4 separate regions of the Homo sapiens genome follow, and all the other regions are linked to region 1. Evidence: promoter capture Hi-C in 16 types of primary human blood cells and fetal thymus (Javierre and others, 2016). All regions are on one chromosome and are shown on one strand. The core of a region is centred on a gene start or on the middle of the fragment in contact, and the rest is flanking DNA. Distances in the headings are between cores, read along the strand shown. Region 1 overlaps EXOSC10 (exosome component 10). Region 2 holds the start of MFN2 (mitofusin 2). Region 3 holds the start of KIAA2013. Region 4 holds the start of DRAXIN (dorsal inhibitory axon guidance protein).

The links. Contacts are between HindIII fragments. The CHiCAGO score rates a contact against its expected background, and 5 or more counts as called.
Region 2: a contact is called between the fragment with the promoter of MFN2 here and a fragment that was not itself captured in region 1, in 5 of 17 cell types (total B cells, naive B cells, naive CD4 T cells and 2 more). The highest score is 13.4, in total B cells.
Region 3: the fragment with the promoter of KIAA2013 here is called in contact with a fragment that was not itself captured in region 1 in 4 of 17 cell types (naive B cells, total B cells, monocytes and 1 more); the score reaches 7.4 in naive B cells.
Region 4: the fragment with the promoter of DRAXIN here is called in contact with a fragment that was not itself captured in region 1 in 2 of 17 cell types (naive B cells and M0 macrophages); the score reaches 6.4 in naive B cells.

What each region holds. Positions count from the first base shown.
Region 1 is chr1:11,062,437-11,066,943 of GRCh38, reverse strand. It overlaps EXOSC10 (exosome component 10), which reads left to right. Exons shown (of 25, transcript NM_001001998.3): 25 at 196-326. The coding sequence ends at 226. Among named protein-coding and RNA genes, the nearest start is that of SRM, 4.7 kb to the right of the region's middle. RefSeq lists an enhancer at 3,489-3,568. The HindIII fragment of the contact is 2,936 bases long and covers 1,090-4,025 here.
Region 2 is chr1:11,978,027-11,982,533 of GRCh38, reverse strand. MFN2 (mitofusin 2) reads right to left here and starts at 2,090. Exons shown (of 19, transcript NM_014874.4): 1 at 2,050-2,090; 2 at 420-564. RefSeq lists an enhancer at 249-348 and silencers at 1,805-2,044, 2,215-2,474. The HindIII fragment of the contact is 7,841 bases long and covers 678-4,507 here.
Region 3 is chr1:11,923,283-11,927,789 of GRCh38, reverse strand. KIAA2013 reads left to right here and starts at 1,363. Exons shown (of 3, transcript NM_138346.3): 1 at 1,363-2,585; 2 at 4,301-4,507. The coding sequence starts at 1,553. RefSeq lists enhancers at 1,144-1,438, 1,093-1,756, 1,757-2,419 and a silencer at 1,439-1,508. The HindIII fragment of the contact is 9,969 bases long and covers 1-4,507 here.
Region 4 is chr1:11,689,642-11,694,148 of GRCh38, reverse strand. DRAXIN (dorsal inhibitory axon guidance protein) reads right to left here and starts at 2,439. Exons shown (of 7, transcript NM_198545.4): 1 at 2,296-2,439. It also overlaps a transcript of MAD2L2 not described here. RefSeq lists enhancers at 3,124-3,631, 3,632-4,141. The HindIII fragment of the contact is 12,625 bases long and covers 1-3,270 here.

The DNA.
Region 1 (4,507 bases), core at 1,308-3,807:
CAGGAAAAACAGGTCTGCCTTCTCAAGATGCTGCTCAGCTCAGCCAACTCTGGTGGGCCGCCGAGTTCTCTGGGGCCCCTGAGCAAACCATTCTTCCTCTGTTCTGCATGATTAAGATTTGCACCATTTTGTAAACCATCTGAGAACATCCAACCAGCCCGGAAGAAATAACTGTTGTTTTTGTACTCTCTGCAGAGGCTTCAGGTACAACTGGCCACAGAGATAGTCCTGGAAGACACGTGGCGCCTGTGGACCGGAAGCACCAAATGCTGGTGCTGCTTTTGTACATACATATTTTTAAACCATTAAAATTCTTCCTGAAGAAAGCTGATTCCTGACTTTTATTTTGTTGCCGCCACAGCTCTGGCAGGTTGCCATCCTGTTCAGGCAACCATCTTCAGCTGTCTGTGGGCAGGTGAGTGTGCTCCGGGGGTTATGGTGACTTCTAGAAAAATCCAGAGCCGGCCGGGTGCGGTGGCTCACGCCTGCAATCCCAGCACTTTGGGAGGCTGAGGCAGGCGGATCACGAGGTCAGGAGATCGAGACCATGCTGGCCAACACGGTGAAAGCCTTTCTCTACTAAAAATACAAAAAATTAGCCGGGCATGGTGGTGGACGCCTGTAATCCCAGCTACTCAGGAGGCTGAGGCAGGAGAATCGCTTGAACCTAGGAGGCGGAGGTTGCAGTGAGCCGAGATCACGCCACCTCATTTGAGCCTGGGCAGTAGAGCAAGACTCTGTCTCAAAAAAAAAGGCAAATGCAAAGAGAAAATTTTAATCATTTGTAGTCCTGTCACACAAAGATGCTTTTTTCCTTTTTTTGAGACAGGGTCTCACTCTGTTGCCCATTCTGGAGTGCAGTAGTGTGATCCTAGCTCACTGCAGCCTTGACCTCCCAGGCACATGCCACCACACCTGGGTAATTTTTCTTATGTTTTATAGAGATGGGGTCTTGCTGTGTTGCCCAGGCTGGTCTTGAACTCCTGGCCTCAAGCAATCCTCCTGTCTTGTCCTGCCAGTGTTGGGATTTCAGGCATGAGCCACCACACCCAGCTGAGATTAACATTTTGCTGTATTTCCTTATAAGCTTTCGCTATGTGTATATAGATATATTTTTAAAATATATCTTGGGTTCAGGTTTCTATCATTTGTCACCTTGAAAGTTTGTGTTATGACACTTTTCTCAATCTAAAATTTATTTTCGCCAACCCCCATTGTTAAACGCTTAGGTTTTCATTTTTGGTACTATTCTTAATAATGCAGCACTCACTAAACTTTTATATAAATTTGTGACCCAGTCTCTGATAATTTCTTTAGAACTTCATTTTATTTTAATCCTGAGATGGGCTAATAAATCAGGAAAGCACAAAATGCCATTACTTTGGTTTTTACAAATACTTAACCTAGAAACCTTTTTTCTTTGAAATTCATCCCACAAAGTATTGAGATTGCCAACTGTATATGATAACCTTTGGGGGGTACCAAGCCAAATCACACATCACTGCCGTCAGAGAGCTCCCACTCTTGAACAGCAGAGAACAGCCCTGTCCTAAGATAGGCTGGAGTTTGTTTTAGCTAGGACTAGACTGGTTGAAAATGACAGAAAAGCCAAACTATAGTGACTTTTAACAAGAGAGATGATTTTCCTCCTCTTTTGTAAACATAGTTGGCCCAGAGCTAGTGTGATGCTCATGATCATCAGACACAGGCTCCTATCTTGTTTTACCATCCTCAGCTCAAACACAAGGCTGCCGCCTCATGGTGCAGGGTGACTGCCCTTGCTCCAGCCATTACATTCTCATTCCAGTCTGCTGGAAGGAGGAAAGAACAGCACCCAATCTCTTTGAATAGGATACTGCCCATTTCAACTTCCCATTGGTCAGAACTTAGTCACAAGACCACAGCAAGGGGTACTAGGAAATATCATTATTTCAGTCATCCGTGTGTCCAACTAAAAGCCCAGGGTTCTACTATAGAATTTGGGAAGAACAGACATCGAAGGACAAAGAACAGTCACTGCCTAAAAATGGCAGTCTCTGCTATAAAAAATTGACAAGCGGAATTTTTTTTTTTTTTTTTTCCTGAGACGGAGTTTCGCTCTTGTTGCCCAGGCTGAAGTGCAATGGCACGGCACAATCTCGGCTCACTGCAACCTCCACCTCCTGGATTCAAGCAGTTGTCCTGCCTCAGCCTCCCAAGGAGTTGGGATTACAGGCGCCTGCCATCACGCCCGGCTTATTTTTGTATTTTTAAGTACAGACAAGGTTTCACCATGTTGGTCAGGCTGGTCTCGAACTCCTGACCTCAGGTGATCCACTCACCTCAGCCTCCCAAAGTGCTGGGATTACAGGCGTGAGCCACTGTGCCCGGCCTCACAGGTGGAATTTTTTTTTTTTTTTTTTTTTTGAGACAGTCTCGCTCTTGTCACCCAGGCTGGAGTGCAGTGGTACGATCTCAGCTCACTGCAACCTCTGCCTCTCGGGTTCAAGCAATTCTCCTGCCTCAGCCTCCCACGTAGCTGGGATTACAGGCGCCCACCACCACACCCAGCTAATTAGTGGAGACGGGGTTGTACCATGTTGGCCAGACTGGTCTTGAACTCCTGACCTCAAGTGATCCGCCCACCTCAGCCTTCCAAAGTGCTGGGATTGCAAGGCGTGAGCCACGACGCCTGGCCAAAGTGAGAAATTATTTTCTCCTGAGGATGGCCTGAGAGGCCTCGTGAAAGGCGCATTCGGACTGGACCCTGAGGAGCAAGGGACTTCCAGAGAGCTCTATGGCAGCGCAGCTCAAAGCGGAGGTCTCTGACAGCCCAGATGAGGACTTGTCAGAAAGAATCCAGTGCCACCTAGAGCCTGGAGGCTGCCAGGGCCGCTGTGCTCACCCGTTAAAGTGATGCCGCACCCTTTCTTTGGAAGTTTTCCATATTGGTTTTGTCTGTGTGACAATGTTTTTCTGTTTGTTTGTTTGTTGGTTTGTTTGTTTTTTGAGGCAGAGTCTCCCTCTGGCGTTCAGGCTGGAGTGCAATGGCATGATCTTCGCTCACTGCAATCTCCATCTCCTGGGTTCAAGAAATTCTCCTGCCTCAGCCTCCCAAGTAGCTGGGATTAGAGGTGCCCACCACCACGCCTGGCTAATTTTTGTACTTTTAGTAGAGATGGAGTTTCACCACGTTGGCCAGGCTGGTCCTGAACTCCTGACCTCAGGTAATCCACCCACCTTGGCCTCCCAAAGTGCTGGGATTACAGGCGTGAGCCACTGTGCCTGGCCTTCTGTTTGTTTTTTAAAAGACAGGAACCTTAGACAGGAGTTTGAGTTGTTTTCAAATATTCAATCTTGCAAAATAAAAAGTTCGCAACCCAGTGTCAGTCCCTAGATGGTGTCTGCAGAGGTTTACTGGTCCATCAAACCCCAAATCCAGAACTCCTCAGCCATGGGGTGGAGATGAGGGTCTTGGGTGTTCAAAGAACAACAGCTGGAGCTCAATGTCAGGTCACTTGGGGAGCACCTGGGACAGGACTAAGGAGGATGGTGAGCACATAGAGGGGTATGTGTGGGTCAGGAACTGTGCAGTGACTGAGTAGTGGAGGCCATGGCTGGGCCTGTGCTCCAAGAGGAAGGGAAAGGGATCTGGCAGGGCTGGCCAGGTTGGAGGTAGAGAGAGAATTTATGAGCAGAAGGACTGTGTGCTCAAGGAGGCATGCTGCTGTTTGCGGTGCCTTAGGCAGCTTGCCATAAGCATTTTCAACCAAGCCACACCACATAATGGCCAAAATTGTTCCCACTCATAACCACAGCTGTCTGCCTGGCTGAATGGAAGTGTAGAAAAATGACTCAAGTGCTAACTGCTTAACAAGCCTCTCGTGACAGACACATAACCACGTGGCAGCCCCATTTAAACCATTTCCTTGAACAGTAGCCATTGGCCCACCTTTCTCTCCTCTACCCTTTCTCCCCTTTTTCCTTTTATAATAACACTTTTTAGGAGGTTGGGTGGGATAGTTAACCCACTAGACACTTAAGCTTTACAACTGGGTTTTTGAGGTACATTGGTCTGAATTTAGGGGAAAACATTTCATGCTAAAGCCTGATTTTCTCAGTCCTGGTTGTTTGGTTGTTTTTTTGTTTTGTTTTGTTTTGTTTTTTGGTGTTGGGGGTGTTTTTTTTTGTTTTTTTTTTTTTCCTTTCTTGGAGACAGGGTCTCGCTCTGTCACCTAGGCTGGAGTGCAGTGGTGCGACTGTGGCTCACTGCAACCTCCGCCTCCTGGGTTGAAGCAATTCTCATGCCTCAGCCTCCCAAGTAGCTGGGATTACAGGTGCACGCCACAATGGCAGCTAGTTTTTGTATTTTTAGTAGAGATGGAATTTCACCACCTTGGCCAGGCTGGTCTTGAACTCCTGACCTCAGGTGATCCACCCGCTTTGGCCTCCCGAACTGCTGGGATTACAAGCGTGAGCCACCACGCGTGGCCAATCCTGGTTTTTTTCTGTAGACTTCTGTGGTCAT
Region 2 (4,507 bases), core at 841-3,340, 920 kb before region 1:
TGCTGGCACAACTGGAAAAGAGGAGAAGCTGAGAAATCGAAACAAAAAGAGTATACAGGGTAAAGGGGACAGAGCAGAGTCTTAAAAGAGCAGTGACAAGGAGCCAACCTGTGCTGGGCCGAGATGGGGAAGAGCCAGCACAGCAGAGACCAAATGAGGGAGACAGAGACTAACTCTTCAGGGAGCCCAAGAGATCCCAGCCACTTCTGAACTGTCAACTTTTAAACAGGCTCTCTAAGCAACCAGCGAAATCCTTCACGGAAGTAAAAGATACGGTAGTTTTTCAACACAAGTTAGAAAGCTGTGGCTCTATACAAAGAGGATGCCATTCAAGAGACTTGCCACCAGAGGTCCAGGAGAGCACACCCCTGTCCACTCAGCTCAAATCCAGGGTGCCAGAAGTCACAGCTACTACTTACTTTTTTGGATGGTGAGAGATCTTCACAGGGTAGGCATCATGGACATGGCTGAAGTCCAAAAGACAAAAAGATTCTGAGTTCTCTTCTGTCCTGTCTCAGGTTGAGGTTGGCTATTGATTGACTGTGTTGACTCCACCAGTCCTGACTTATTAGAAAAGAAAAGGGAGATGGATCCGGTGTCCAAAAAAAAAAAACACTGGTGTACAAAACATGTCTAATCAGGTTTCAAGCCAAACAAACTCATCCCTGAGGGAAGCTTACTCATTGAGGTATTGGGGAGTTGCGCTGGCATGTGAGGAAGTGCCCTGGGGAAAAAAACGCAGAGGTGTGGGACCAATCCTGACTGTGCACACGTATTCCGCCATGTGCGGGTTTGAGGCACCACGGAGGTCCCTGCAGGAGCCCTGGGAAAGGTACATCCAGAGAGGGGAGAAGAGGACAGAGCAAAACTAGGAACAAAACTGGGCTTGAGGACTGTGGAACAGCTGACTATTGAGGAACAGAAGAACTGACTGAAAGCCAATGTGTTCAGCTACTGTAAAGTATCTCACTTAATTCTCTATTCTGTGGGACAGAGGGCTGGAATACTTGAAGATTTGTCTAAGCTGGGATCTGAAATATTAGCTCCCTTTGACTCCAAAGCTCCTGGAGTGCAGCAGCGCGATCTCGGCTCAACCTCCGCCTCCCGGGTTCAAGCGATTCTCCTGCCTCAGCCTCCTGAGTAGATGGGATTACAGGCGTGTGCCAGCAAGCCCGGCTAGTTTTTGGTTTTAGCACAGACGGGGTTTCACCATGTTGGCCAGGCTGGTCTCCAACTCCTGACCTCAGGTGATCCGCCCGCCTCAGCCTCCCAAAGTGCTGGGATTACAGGTGTGATCCACTGCGACCGGCCTCCTTCCTTTTTTAACTACATTGAGCTGCCTTCCTCCCCCAAGCCCCAAACCTTGGGACACCAGAGGCGGATAACCAGAGCCCTTTTCTGGGTAGAAAAGAGATAACCAGAGCCCTTTTCTGGGTAGAAGAGAGAGAGATGATTGAGAATTTAAAGAGGGCAATGAAGGATTACGAGAGGGGGTAACGGGCAGTTCTGCCTTCGTGCGTCTTAACAGCTATTTATTCAACATTTTCTGTGTGCCTTCTCTGTGTGTGTCAGGCGCCACGTTAGAAATGGATAAGAAACAGTCCTGCCCTCCAGGGCCTTACAGTCCGGTGAGAAGTCATATAAGTAAACAGGGCTGAACGAGAAGGCAGTAACTGCCCAAAGTGGGGATGGCAGGGCGCTCCCGCGGTGAACGTGGACACCTATCAGGTGCTGAGTAAATGCTGGCAAAATGAAGACAGGATGAAAAATAGAGAAGGGGCAGGGGTAGAACATGGCCGTGAAGGGTGGAAAGGCGGGGGCGATGAGAAGCTACAGGGGACCCCACCGACCAGTCCCAGGTCCCGTGGCCCGCCCCCTCCTCTCAGGGCCGGGGAGGGCCCGGCGGCGAGGCCGGAGAGTGGGGACCCCGCTTGACTGCATCCCAGACCCCCGTGGCCCCAGAATCCCGTCGGCCCACGCCGAGCTGCTCAGGACTCGCCGGGCCGGGCCGGGCCAGTCCCCGCCACCCCGGCTTGCTCGCCCTCTCACCTTCACCTTCCCGGCCTCGCGGCGGCCATCACACTCACTACGTCACCAGCGAGCGCCACCCCAGGGGGAGGCGGGAGGAGGGAAGTGGATAAGCGCGTCACCAGTCGCCTCAGATTGCCCCTCGACCCGGGTGAGCTGGTGGACCCTGAGCCCAGCCGGCTCGCCCCGCCTACTCCTTACGCCTCTGCTGCCCCGCGACTCGGCGCTTCGAGCGGCGTCTCAGCGCGCCACTCCTCCGCGCGCCACTCCTCCGCCGGCGCGTCCCAAGCGGACGACGCAGAGGCTCGGACTCCCACTGCATCATGGGGGCTGTAGTTCCGGTGGGCGTCGGCCGGAGCTGGGGGGGCGGGGCAAAGCGGGGCGGAGCCTCAAGCTGTCAAGGGGCGAAAAACCAAGGGCGTGGAGTAGAGGTTCCCGCTTTTTCGCCGGTTGTCCTAGAGCCTGACCCTGGGGCCTCTGCCAGCTCTGGAATCCAGATTTGCATTCTGTAATCTTAGAGGAGTGTTCTCTAGAGGGCCAGGCCTAGGGTGAAGTGACTCATCGGGCAGACAGAAGCGAGCATGGGCCTGCTGCCCTTCAGTCGCCTTTGAGGAAAGAAGAGCAGCAACAACGGCGAATCAATGCCAGTGACTGAACTGCGTCTCTAACATCCACCGCTGTATTTAACGTCCACAGCAGTCCCAGGAGAGGGAGAGGAGAGGTTACCCAAGCTCACATGGTTACCCAGATCACCGGGCCCCAGTGATGCGGCAGACACTACTAGGAAACCGCAGCAAACAGATCCCTTGCAGGACTTGGCCTCCGCAGAGAAGGCTCCAAGCCTGAGCGCGCCAGAACAGTAGGCACTAGCCACGTGTGGCTCTCGAGTCCTGAGCCAGTGCAAACGGAGATGCGCTATAAGACTTAGGACAAAAAAGGCTGTTAAACTATCTCAATTTTTAGGAAAAAAAAATATCGACCGGGCGCGGTGGCTCAAGCCTGTAATTCCAGCATTTTAGGAGGGCGAGGCGGGTGCATCGGGAGTTCAAGACCAGCCTGGCCAACATGGTGAAACCCCGTCTGTACTAAAAATACAAAAATTAGCCAGGCATGATAGTGCACTCGGGAGGAAGAGGCAGGAGAATCGCTTGAACACGGGCGGTGGAGGTTGCAGTGAGCCGAGATCATGCCACTGCACTCCAGCCTGGGCAACAGAGACTCCGTCTCAAAAAAGAAAAAAAAAATCTATCTTTGAGCCAGAGTCTCACTCTCACTCAAGCTGGAGTGCAGTGGTGCAATCACGGCTCACTGCAGCCTCGAACTCCTGGGCTCAAGTAATCCTCCCACCTCACTCAGCCTCCCAAGTAGCTGACCACAGATGCTGCAGCCATGCCTAGTATTTATCTTTTGTAGACATGGGGAAGCATTTCACTTTGTTACCCAGGCTGGTGTCCTGAACTCCTGGACTCCTGGAGTCAAGCAATCTTCTCCTGCCTCGGCTTCCCAAAATGCCGGGTTACAGGTACCTGCCACAGTGCAGGGCTATTAGCCCATTACTATTTATATGCTGACTACATGTTGAAGTGATAATATTTTGGGTCATTTGGGTTAAATACATTACTAAGATTAATTGCACCTGTTTCTTTTTAAAAATGTCGCTACTAGAAAATTTAAAATTACATAAGTAGCTTGCATTTGTGGGTCAAACTGTAATTCTGTGGGATGGTGCTGCTCTATAACCATGGTAGAACAACCTCAATTTATTGCCACAAACAACCTCAAGAGGCAAATCAGTACTCTGATATAGAAGTGACTGGTTTATCAGTCTCATGACGATGGCCAAAGGGAGCTGTCCTGCCCACACTGCCCTCTGAGTAGCCTAGTGCCCCGCGGGTCTGACTGTGGACTGTGGGGCCACACGCAGACTCAGCCTCAGGGTGTAGACAGGGCCCTGTCTGGGATGTAGCGTGCCTTGGGGCCTCAGCTGCTAGCTGCCTGGTACTGGGTCGGATTGTTTCCTCCTCCACAATCTCTGGACTCCCTAAGGAGAGGAACTCTAAATTCCACTTCCATTCTCTGAGGGCAGGAACTATAAATTCCATTTCCTCTTTTTTTTTTTTTTTCTTTTTTTTTGAGAAAGAGTCTCGCTCTCACTCTGTTGCCCAGACTGGAGCTCAGTGGCACCATCTTGGCTCACCGCAACCTCCGCCTCAGGCAATTCTCCCGCCTCAGTCTCCCCACTAGCTGGGATTACAGGCGTGCACCACCATGCCTGGCTAATTTTTGTATTTTTAGTAGAGATGGGGTTTCACCATGTTGGCCAGGCTGGTCTCAAACTCCTGACCTCAGGTGATCCACCCGCCTCAGCCTCCCAAAGTGCTGGGATTACAGGTGTGAGCCACCACGCCCAGCCTTCCTTTTCCTTTTTAGCAGAATCTTGCCCGTCAGGTGAAAGCCTGGATGTTCTCTCTCCTAAACA
Region 3 (4,507 bases), core at 114-2,613, 860 kb before region 1:
CGATCTCGGCTCACTGCAACCTCTGCCTCCCTGGTTCAAGCGATTCTCGTGCCTCAGTCTCTCAAGTAGCTGGGATTACAGGCGCCCACCACCACGCCCAGCTAATTTTTGCATTTTTATTTTTTTATTTTTATTTATTTATTTTTTTTTTTTTGAGACAGAGTCTCCCTCTGTCACCCAGGCTGGAGTGCAGTGGCGCGATCTTGGCTCACTGCAAGCACCGCCTCCCGGGTTCACGCCATTCTCCTGCCTCAGCCTCCCGAGTAGCTGGGACTACAGGCGCCTGCCACCACGCCTGGCTAATTTTTTATATTTTTAGTAGAGACAGGGTTTCACCGTGTTAGCCAGGATGGTCTCGATCTCCTGATCTCGTGATCTGGCGGCCTCGGCCTCCCAAAATGCTGGGATTACAGGCGTGAGCCACCGTGCCCAGCCTAATTTTTGTATTTTTAGTAGAGACAGGTTTTCACCATGTTGGTCAGGCTGGTTTCGAACTCCTGACCTCAAGTGATTTGCCCATCTCAGCCTCCTAAAGTGCTGGAATTACAGACGTGAGCCACCACTCCTGGCCTCTGGTGGTTCCCCTTCCCCTCCTCCTCCCTTTTCCTTTCTTCTTCTTTCTTCCTCTTCTTCTCTCTCCTTTTTTTTTCCTCCACTTTTTCGTATTGTTCCAAGTGTTTTTTTGCAGTGAGGATAGTCTTTTTTTTTTTTTTTTTTTTTGAGACAGAGTCTCACTCTGTCGCCCAGGCTGGAGTGCAGTGGCGTGATCTCGGCTCACTGCAAGCCTGCAACCTCCGCCTCACGGGTTCAAGCAGTTCTCCTACCTCAGCCTCCTGAGGAGCAGGGATTACAGGCATGCGCCACCACGCCCGGCTAGTTTTTGTATTTTTAGTAGAGATGGGGTTTCACCATGTTGGTCAGGCTGGTCTCAAACTGCTGACCTCGTGATCCGCCCGCCTTGGCCTCCCAAAGTGCTGGGATTACAGGCGTGAGCCACCGCGCGCGGCGAGAGGATGGTCATTTTTACAGAAACAAAGTTGTTGTGTGTGTGTGTGTGTATGTTTTTAAATTTTGGGGCTGTTGAATCCATCAGTAGCAAAGGGGCCCAACACGTGTTCGGTTTGGCTGGCTCGATGTTTTTTTCACGAGTGAATTGGATGCTTCCAGTCCTCCCCAGACCCCTGCACTTAACTCCACTGGACTTCACTCTTCCGGCCTGGGAACGAGTGGTCCCGCCCCCGGCAGCTTTTGTCCCGCCCTCGCCGTGGCTCCGCCCCCTTCTCTCCGGCCTGCTCTCTCTCCTCCCTCCGCCCTCCCGTTTTCCATCTGTCGTAAAAGACACGGCGACGCTTGACCGCCGGCGTCGTTTGACGGCTGGAGGCCACCGAGAAGAAGGAGGAAGCAGGGGTGGCGGCTGCTGCGGCGGTTGCGGCGGGGGCCGGGGTGGGCGCCGCGGTCCGGGCCGGGCAGTGAGGCGCGGGCGGCCGGGCCGGTGGGCTGGGCGGCGGGCCCGGCGGCCGCCCTCGCACCCTTGCCCGCGCCTGGCGGCCCGATGTGGCTGCAGCAGCGGCTCAAGGGGCTGCCGGGACTGCTGTCGAGCAGCTGGGCCCGCCGCCTCCTCTGCCTGCTTGGCCTCCTGCTGCTGCTTCTGTGGTTTGGGGGGTCCGGCGCGCGGCGGGCGGCGGGCGGCCTGCACCTGCTGCCCTGGTCCCGCGGTGAGCCGGGCGCCGCCGAGCCGTCTGCCTGCCTGGAGGCGGCCACCCGCGCCTGGCGCGGCCTGCGGGAGCGCGGTGAGGTGGTACCGCTGGGTCCTGGAGTGCCGGCCCTGGTGGCCAACGGCTTCCTGGCCCTGGACGTGGCTGCCAATCGGCTGTGGGTGACTCCCGGGGAGCGGGAGCCCGCCGTGGCGCCGGACTTTGTGCCCTTCGTGCAGCTGCGCCCGCTGAGCGCGCTGGCTGAAGCTGGAGAGGCGGTGCTGCTGCTGCGGGAGGGGCTTCTGCGCCGCGTGCGTTGCCTGCAGCTGGGGTCCCCAGGTCCTGGCCCCGTGGCCGCCGGCCCCGGGCCCGCCTCCGTCTCTGGCCTTGCCGCGGGGTCCGGCCGCGACTGCGTGCTGCTGCAAGAGGACTTTCTGGCGCACAGGGGCCGACCCCACGTCTACCTGCAGCGCATCCAGCTCAACAACCCCACGGAGCGCGTGGCCGCGCTGCAGACTGTGGGGCCCACTGCCGGCCCAGCCCCCAAGGCCTTCACCAGTACCCTGGAGAAGGTCGGAGACCATCAGTTCCTCCTCTACTCAGGCCGGTCCCCGCCTACGCCCACTGGGTTGGTGCACCTGGTGGTGGTGGCCGCCAAGAAGCTGGTGAACCGCCTCCAAGTGGCTCCCAAGACGCAGCTGGATGAGACGGTGCTGTGGGTGGTGCACGTCTCTGGCCCCATTAACCCCCAGGTGCTCAAAAGCAAAGCAGCCAAGGAGCTCAAGGCGCTGCAGGACTTGGCACGGAAGGAAATGCTGGAGCTCTTGGACATGCCAGCGGCGGAGCTGCTTCAAGACCACCAGCTCCTCTGGGCTCAGCTCTTCAGCCCAGGTGAGTCCTGGCCAGCGCTTGGTCCACCCTAGATATGTCCCTCCCAAGTCTGCAGAGGTGACACTGAAGGTGATGGTGGGGTGGTTGAAACTTGGGCTTGGCGTTTCACCAGTGGTTGAATCTGCTCAACTGCTTAGTGTCTGTGCGACCTTTGGATTCGTCGCCTAATCTCTCTGGGCCTGTATTTAATAACAATAACGCCTACCTCAGAAGGTTTTTATGAGACTGTAGTGGACAATTGAGTGTAAAGGTCAATTCTTTCTGTTACTTGTTTTGGTAGATGGGGCCTGATGTGAGCAGAGTGAAGTGTTTTAGAGTCAGTTTGCAGAGGTGAAACCAGCAGGTGGATCCCCTGATTCTTTGCTCAGCACCGCAGTCGGCCTGGTGACAGACGTGGGCTTCTTGACATAACCCCTGCTAGGCTGAGGTGCGTCCTGGCAGTTGTGGCTGCAACTGGTTCACAGGGAGGTTGGAGAATCCCTTTTAGCAGGTTGAGATGCTCCCGCCCGATGAAAACTCTCCTCTCGTTGACTGTTAAAGAAAAGAAAATCCTGTTCTGGATGAGAGAGGGGTTTTGGTTTCCAGGGTTCCAATTGTCTGAACCTTTGTGTTTGGTTGCTCAGAGAGTTGAGTTCATTCAGCAAGTATCTATTGAATGCTTCTGCCAGGGCTGTTCTATGCATGGGGGGGTGCAGATGGGAACCAGAGTTCCTGTTCTCATGGTGCTTGCTTAAATTCTGGTTGGGAGGAAGACAGACATTAGAAAAGTGAAAATTAAAATTAAAATAAGGCATCTTTTTAGGCTAGAATGTGCTGGCTGGGCGCGGTGGCTCACGCTGTAATCCCAGCACTTTGGGAGGCTGAGGCAGGTGGATCACCTGAGGTCAGGAGTTCAAGCCAACCTGGCCAACGTGGCGAAACCTTGTCTCTACTAAAAATACAAAACTTAACCTGACCTCATGATCCGTCCACCTTGGCCTCCCAAAGTGCTGGGATTACAGGCGTGAGCCACCGCGCCCGGCGAGAGGATGGTCATCTTCACAGAAACAAAGTTGTGTGTGTGTATGTTTTTAAATCTTAGGGCTGTTGAATCCATCAGTAGCAAAGGGGCCCAGCACGTGTTTATTCAGCAAGTGTCTATTGAATGCTTCTGCCAGGGCTGTTTTAGGCATGGGTGGTGGCCTGCACCTGTAGTCCCAGCTACTCAAAGGCTGAGACGGGAGAATCACTTGAACCCGGGAGGCGGAGGCTGTAGTAACCTGAGATCGTTCCACTGCACTCAAGCCTGGGCAACACAGTGAGACTCTGTCTCAATAAACAAATAAATACATACATACATAAAGCTACAAGACTGGAGAGAGAAAGGACAGAGAGGAGAAGTGGCCTGAGACTGGCCTCAGCACTGGTGACTGATCTGGCGCAGGATGTCTGACCATAGGGTTGGTGCCAAGTCCTGGCTAAGTCTGTGTTCCTCTGGGCTCTGGCACCAGGCCCCGCTGCTTTTTAACAGGATTCTAGATTTCAGGCCCACAGGCTCAAGTTGGTCGTGTAAACAAGACAGGCTGACTTTCTTCTATACTTTAGGGAGATGGGCACCACTGTCTTTATCATTAAGGCACAACACCTCACTCTTCTGCTGCCCTTGGTCTTTATTTCGTATGCTCTGCCTCCCAGCTGTCCTTCCCCCTTAACATGCCGCTTTCATGGTGTTGCAGGAGTGGAAATGAAGAAGATCACTGACACCCACACGCCGTCTGGCCTCACCGTGAACCTGACGCTCTATTACATGCTCTCCTGCTCGCCAGCCCCACTGCTCAGCCCCTCCCTGAGCCACAGGGAGCGAGACCAGATGGAGTCGACGCTCAACTATGAAGATCACTGCTTCAGCGGGCACGCCACCATGCACGCCGAGAACCTGTGGC
Region 4 (4,507 bases), core at 1,190-3,689, 630 kb before region 1:
CTCCCAGATAGGGATTATGCCGTGCAGTTCACAAGAGCTAGGGAGGCAAGGGAGTGCCGGGGTGCTTCCCACAGGAGAGGACATCAGACCTCCTTGGTCAGCAAAGACAGAGGGCTGAGATCAAACACAGGGCAGGGCAGAAAGAGCCCTAGCAAAAGCTCAGAGGAGGGCAGACTGTGGAGATGGTCAGTTCTCCATCGTGGCTGCAACCTGGGACGCAGAGGGGACAATGCTGGGAGGCAGGCAGGACAGGGCTAGGCTGGGCTGAGGTCTCTGTAGTTAACTGAGTGGCCACAGTGAGCCACTGAGGACTATGGACTGGGAGGGCGATGAATTGAATAGTGGGGAGGAAGGCAGCGGAGAGAGCAGAGAGGACCTGAGCAAGGTTCCCAAGCCTCTGAGCTGGCTTTGCTGCAGAAGGCAGGGGGTAGAGATGGTATGAAGGGCCGGGTTCACCAAAGTAGGGCCTGTCTGCCAGGTCGGATTTCGAGCAGGAGCCTGGATGGGGGATGTCGTGGGGATATCCAGCCGTTCTTGCCTCTAAAGAGAAAGGTTCCAGTTGCCAGCCCTGGCTGTGGCTGAAATAAGAACTCAGCCAGGGGAGCCTGGAACCTGCCAGCTGGGAGGTTTCCCTCTTCTGAAGTTGCCCTCATTAAGACACTCAGGCCACGTCACTGCCAGACTCCTGGAGTGGTGTGTCACATGTTATGACCACCTAGACAGTGGTCAGGGGGCTTGGGCAAGCACACAGCAGGTCCAGGAGCCAGCAAGACAATCCCCTCAGAGGAAAGGAAGTGGCCTGTGAGCTGGTGCCGCTATTAAAGGCATCAAGCCAAGACTGAGGTTCAGAATTGGGGGTGAGTCACCGGACGCCTTCTGATGGGTGATCAGTTGTTGGCAACACCAGCTCAGCCACACTGATCTCATTTTGAAAAAAAGTGACCCATTGGCCCTGATTGTTTTAGCTGATTTTAGGACAAGCAAAGAGGAGGAGAGAGAGAAAGAGAAGAGTGCTTGCAAGGGTGTGGACGCCTGTATGGGCACGAGGAGGTGAAGGTGACAGGAAGTGTGATGGGGGAAGAGGCTGTGGTGGTGGGGTTACTCTGAAGTGTCTCTAAGCCTTGACTTTGAGATCCATTTCTGTGGAGCCCCCTGTCCCCACCCCATCCCAGGTCTGTAGACTCCCCTCCCCTCCCCTCCCTTCCTCCACAGGGTGTGTGAACCAGCACCAAGCGGCACCCCACAATTTCCACACACATCCCTATAGGTAGGGACTAGCACCATCCCTGTTTTGTGACAGGAACACTGAGGCTCAGAGAGGTGCATTCCTTTGTCCGAGATCACTCCCAGAGCCCCAGTGTACCCGACTCCAGATGCATAGTACTGAACCGGTTCCAGACACCAGTGTGTCACTGGGCTGGGAGGTGGGCAGCGTGGAGGGAGCATATAGGGCAGGGGAGACCACCGGGCGGAGAGGATGGCCCAGGGAGCACCCAGCTGAGGAAAGCAAGAAAGACTTGGCGGGAAACCCCAGCCCTCTCTCATCTCATACCCCGGCCCCGAAGGCGGCTGAGACCCTTGACGAGCGGACGGAGAAAAGCCAAAAGCCGGCGGTGGGGAGCAGGAGGGACAGAGCGGGAGACCACAGGCGAAAGACCAGCGCCGTCGGGGGAGCCAGGCTGAGTACCTTCCTGGGCACAGATGGGACGGCGCGGGGCCACCGGCGGTGCTGGTTCCGGGCGCACTCAGCGACCCCGGCCACACACCCCAGCCTCCTGGGCGGCCTCGAAAGGGGCTGGAGGGCACGCCCGCCAGCTCTGCCCGGGGCTCAGGGAGTCTTCGAAGACTTCTTCCAACGGTGGCGGACTGGGGCCCCCTGCCTGAGAGACCACCCGGAGACTCAGAGACAGAGAGACAAAGGGAGACTGGGTCAGGGAGAGAGAAGGCTAGTGCCGAGGAGAGTAGGTGCGAGCCGGGACCCCAGAGGGCGGCGAGGGCGCGCGCGAGGCCGAGTGTCAGAGCGTGGAAAAGTGGGCGTCCAGCGGTAGGTGGACGGATGGGGAGCCCGGGAGCAGAGCCAGGGTCCGTGGGCAGACGCGGCGAGGAGAGGAGGCGGCGGAAGGACTGGCGGATAGACGGGTCCGAGGGCTGGGAAGGAGGCAGCATCCTCACTTCCAGCCTCGGGACCCCGCGCACCCCGCCCCTGGGCGCGCCAGGTAGCCCACCTTTGTCCGGGCTCGCAGCCAGGTGGGGCGGGAGGGGCGGAGCCAGGGGCGGGCCGAGGCCGTGCCTTACCTGTCCGGCCGGCGGGTAGGGGGAGGAGGGGCTCGGGGCCGAGCGCCCGCGGGAGCCGAGCGCAGCCGAGGGCGAGCCGCGGAACGGGGCCGGCGTGGAGAGGTGCGCGGGCAGCCGGAGGATGTGCCCGGGCTGAGCGGGACTGGAAGGAAGGGGGAGTGGGCGGGCAGGAGGGAAGGGGGCGGGAGCGCGGGGAGGGGACAGAGGAGGGGCGGCGGGTGGCGGGCTCGACTGCCCCCAGCCGAGGGGCAGCCCCGGGGCCGGGCCCGGCGCGCACCCGGCCAGCGCGCCCTCGCCAGCTGCGCTCTGAGTTCTGGGCCAGCTCCCCAGAGGCCTAGGCGCCGCCGCCGCGAGGGCGCGGGGCAGACAAAGGAGGCAGACAAAGGCGGGCGCAGCCCAGCAGCCGTGCGGGCACCGGGCGAGGCAGGCCCACTCCTCCCGGTGCGTAAGAGCCGCCTCGGCGCGGCCCAGGGCGCGTGGGACGGGAGGGGCTCCGGCAGTTGTGGCGCCTCTGGAGCGGCCCCGCGCAGGGCGGGCGACAAAGGGCCGCGGCGGGCGGTCCTCGGTGGACCCCAACAATGGAGCGAGGCTGCGCGCTCAGCTGCGGCCGCGTCTGTCAGGGCAGGGGCCCGGGGCCACAAAAGGATTATTCCGCCTAGACTGTCAAAAGGGACGGAAGAAATGCCCAGGGCGGGGGAGGCGGGACGGGGAACGGCGGGGCCTTTGTAGCCGCAGAAAGTGCGCAGAGTGGGCAGGCGGGGTTCTCCGAGAGGTCGCTCCTGGATGTAGGGGTACAAAGGGTCTTCAAAGTGCTACCAGCTCACCTGGGGCGCTGACGGCGCACCTGTGCCCTCTTTCCCGGTAGGGAAGGGAGAAAGACAACCGCCCCAATACACACACACACAAACACACACACACACACACTCACACGCGGCGCGGCTCTCGCCACGCCCCGTCCAAAGCCGGCCTGAAGCTTCTCAGACCGGCCCAACCCGGACAAAGCCAGCGCTGGGGCCGGCTCATCCATCACCGCGCGGGGCGCCGTGTCCTGACGACCCTGGGAGTCTGAGAATGCTGGGTTATGGGTCCCGTGCCTCCCATAACTCACGACGGGGTCGGTGGGGCCACGGACGCTGCAAAGATCAAAGAGCGATGGGGCCGGACTCCCATATGTGGGAAGCAGCGCTCCCACCTGGCGCCCTGAGCTCGCCAGGTGGCTTCCATTTCGACTGTTTTCTTTCTCCAGCGTGTGGCAAATTATGACTTTGAGGTTTTAGAACACAGTTCTGCCGTCAGGCTAAATGTCTGTGTTCCTCTTCTGATGCCGTCCCCTATGACCTCGAGCAAGTCGCCTGACCTCTGAGCTCATGATTATACCTAAATTTCAGTGTTCTAGGCGTGAATGCAGTGCCCTGTGTAAGGAGATAACGTTTCTAAGGTCTGGCCCATAGGAAATGCTCCTGTAAAATTAGCTGCCATTGTTACCGTGATATTATTAGCTTGGTGGGCACCAGGATGGATTGATGAGAACACTGAACTGTTTATTCACTGAAAGGTTTGAGTCATCCATCCCATAAATACCTATTGAACACCTACTATGTGCCGGCACCGGAGGTACAGTAGTAAACAACATGGACAAGAATCCCTGCCCCCATGGAGCTCAGATTCTAGTGAAGGAGACAGAAGATAAGTGAACAAATAAATATAAATGATGTCAGGTGGTGATTAGTGCTATGAAGAAAAGTAAAGCACATTACAGACAAAGCATGAAGGGACGAGGTGTTGTTTTACATAAAGTTATTAGGAAAGGCCTCTTTGCTGGGGCAGTTCTTTTGGCAAAGAAAAGGAGGTAATGAGCCACGTGGTTGTGGGGAGAAGACTTGCAAGCAGAAGAGCCACTGCAAAGGTCCTGGAGCGGGAGTGTGCTTGGTGTGTTTGGTGGAGAAGAGTCAGTCTGGAACAGAGTGAGGTGACATCAGACAGGGAGCTGGGATAGGACCATGTTGTTACAGGAAAGGGGTCCTGACCCAGACCTCAGGAGAGGGTTCTTGGATCTCGCACAAGAAATAATTCAGGGCGAGTCCATAGAGTAAAAAGTTTATTAAGACAGTAGAGGAATAAAAAGAATGACTACTCCATAGACAGCACAGCACCAAGGGTTGCTGGTTGCCCATTTTTATGGTTATTTCCTGATGATGTGCTAAACAAAGGG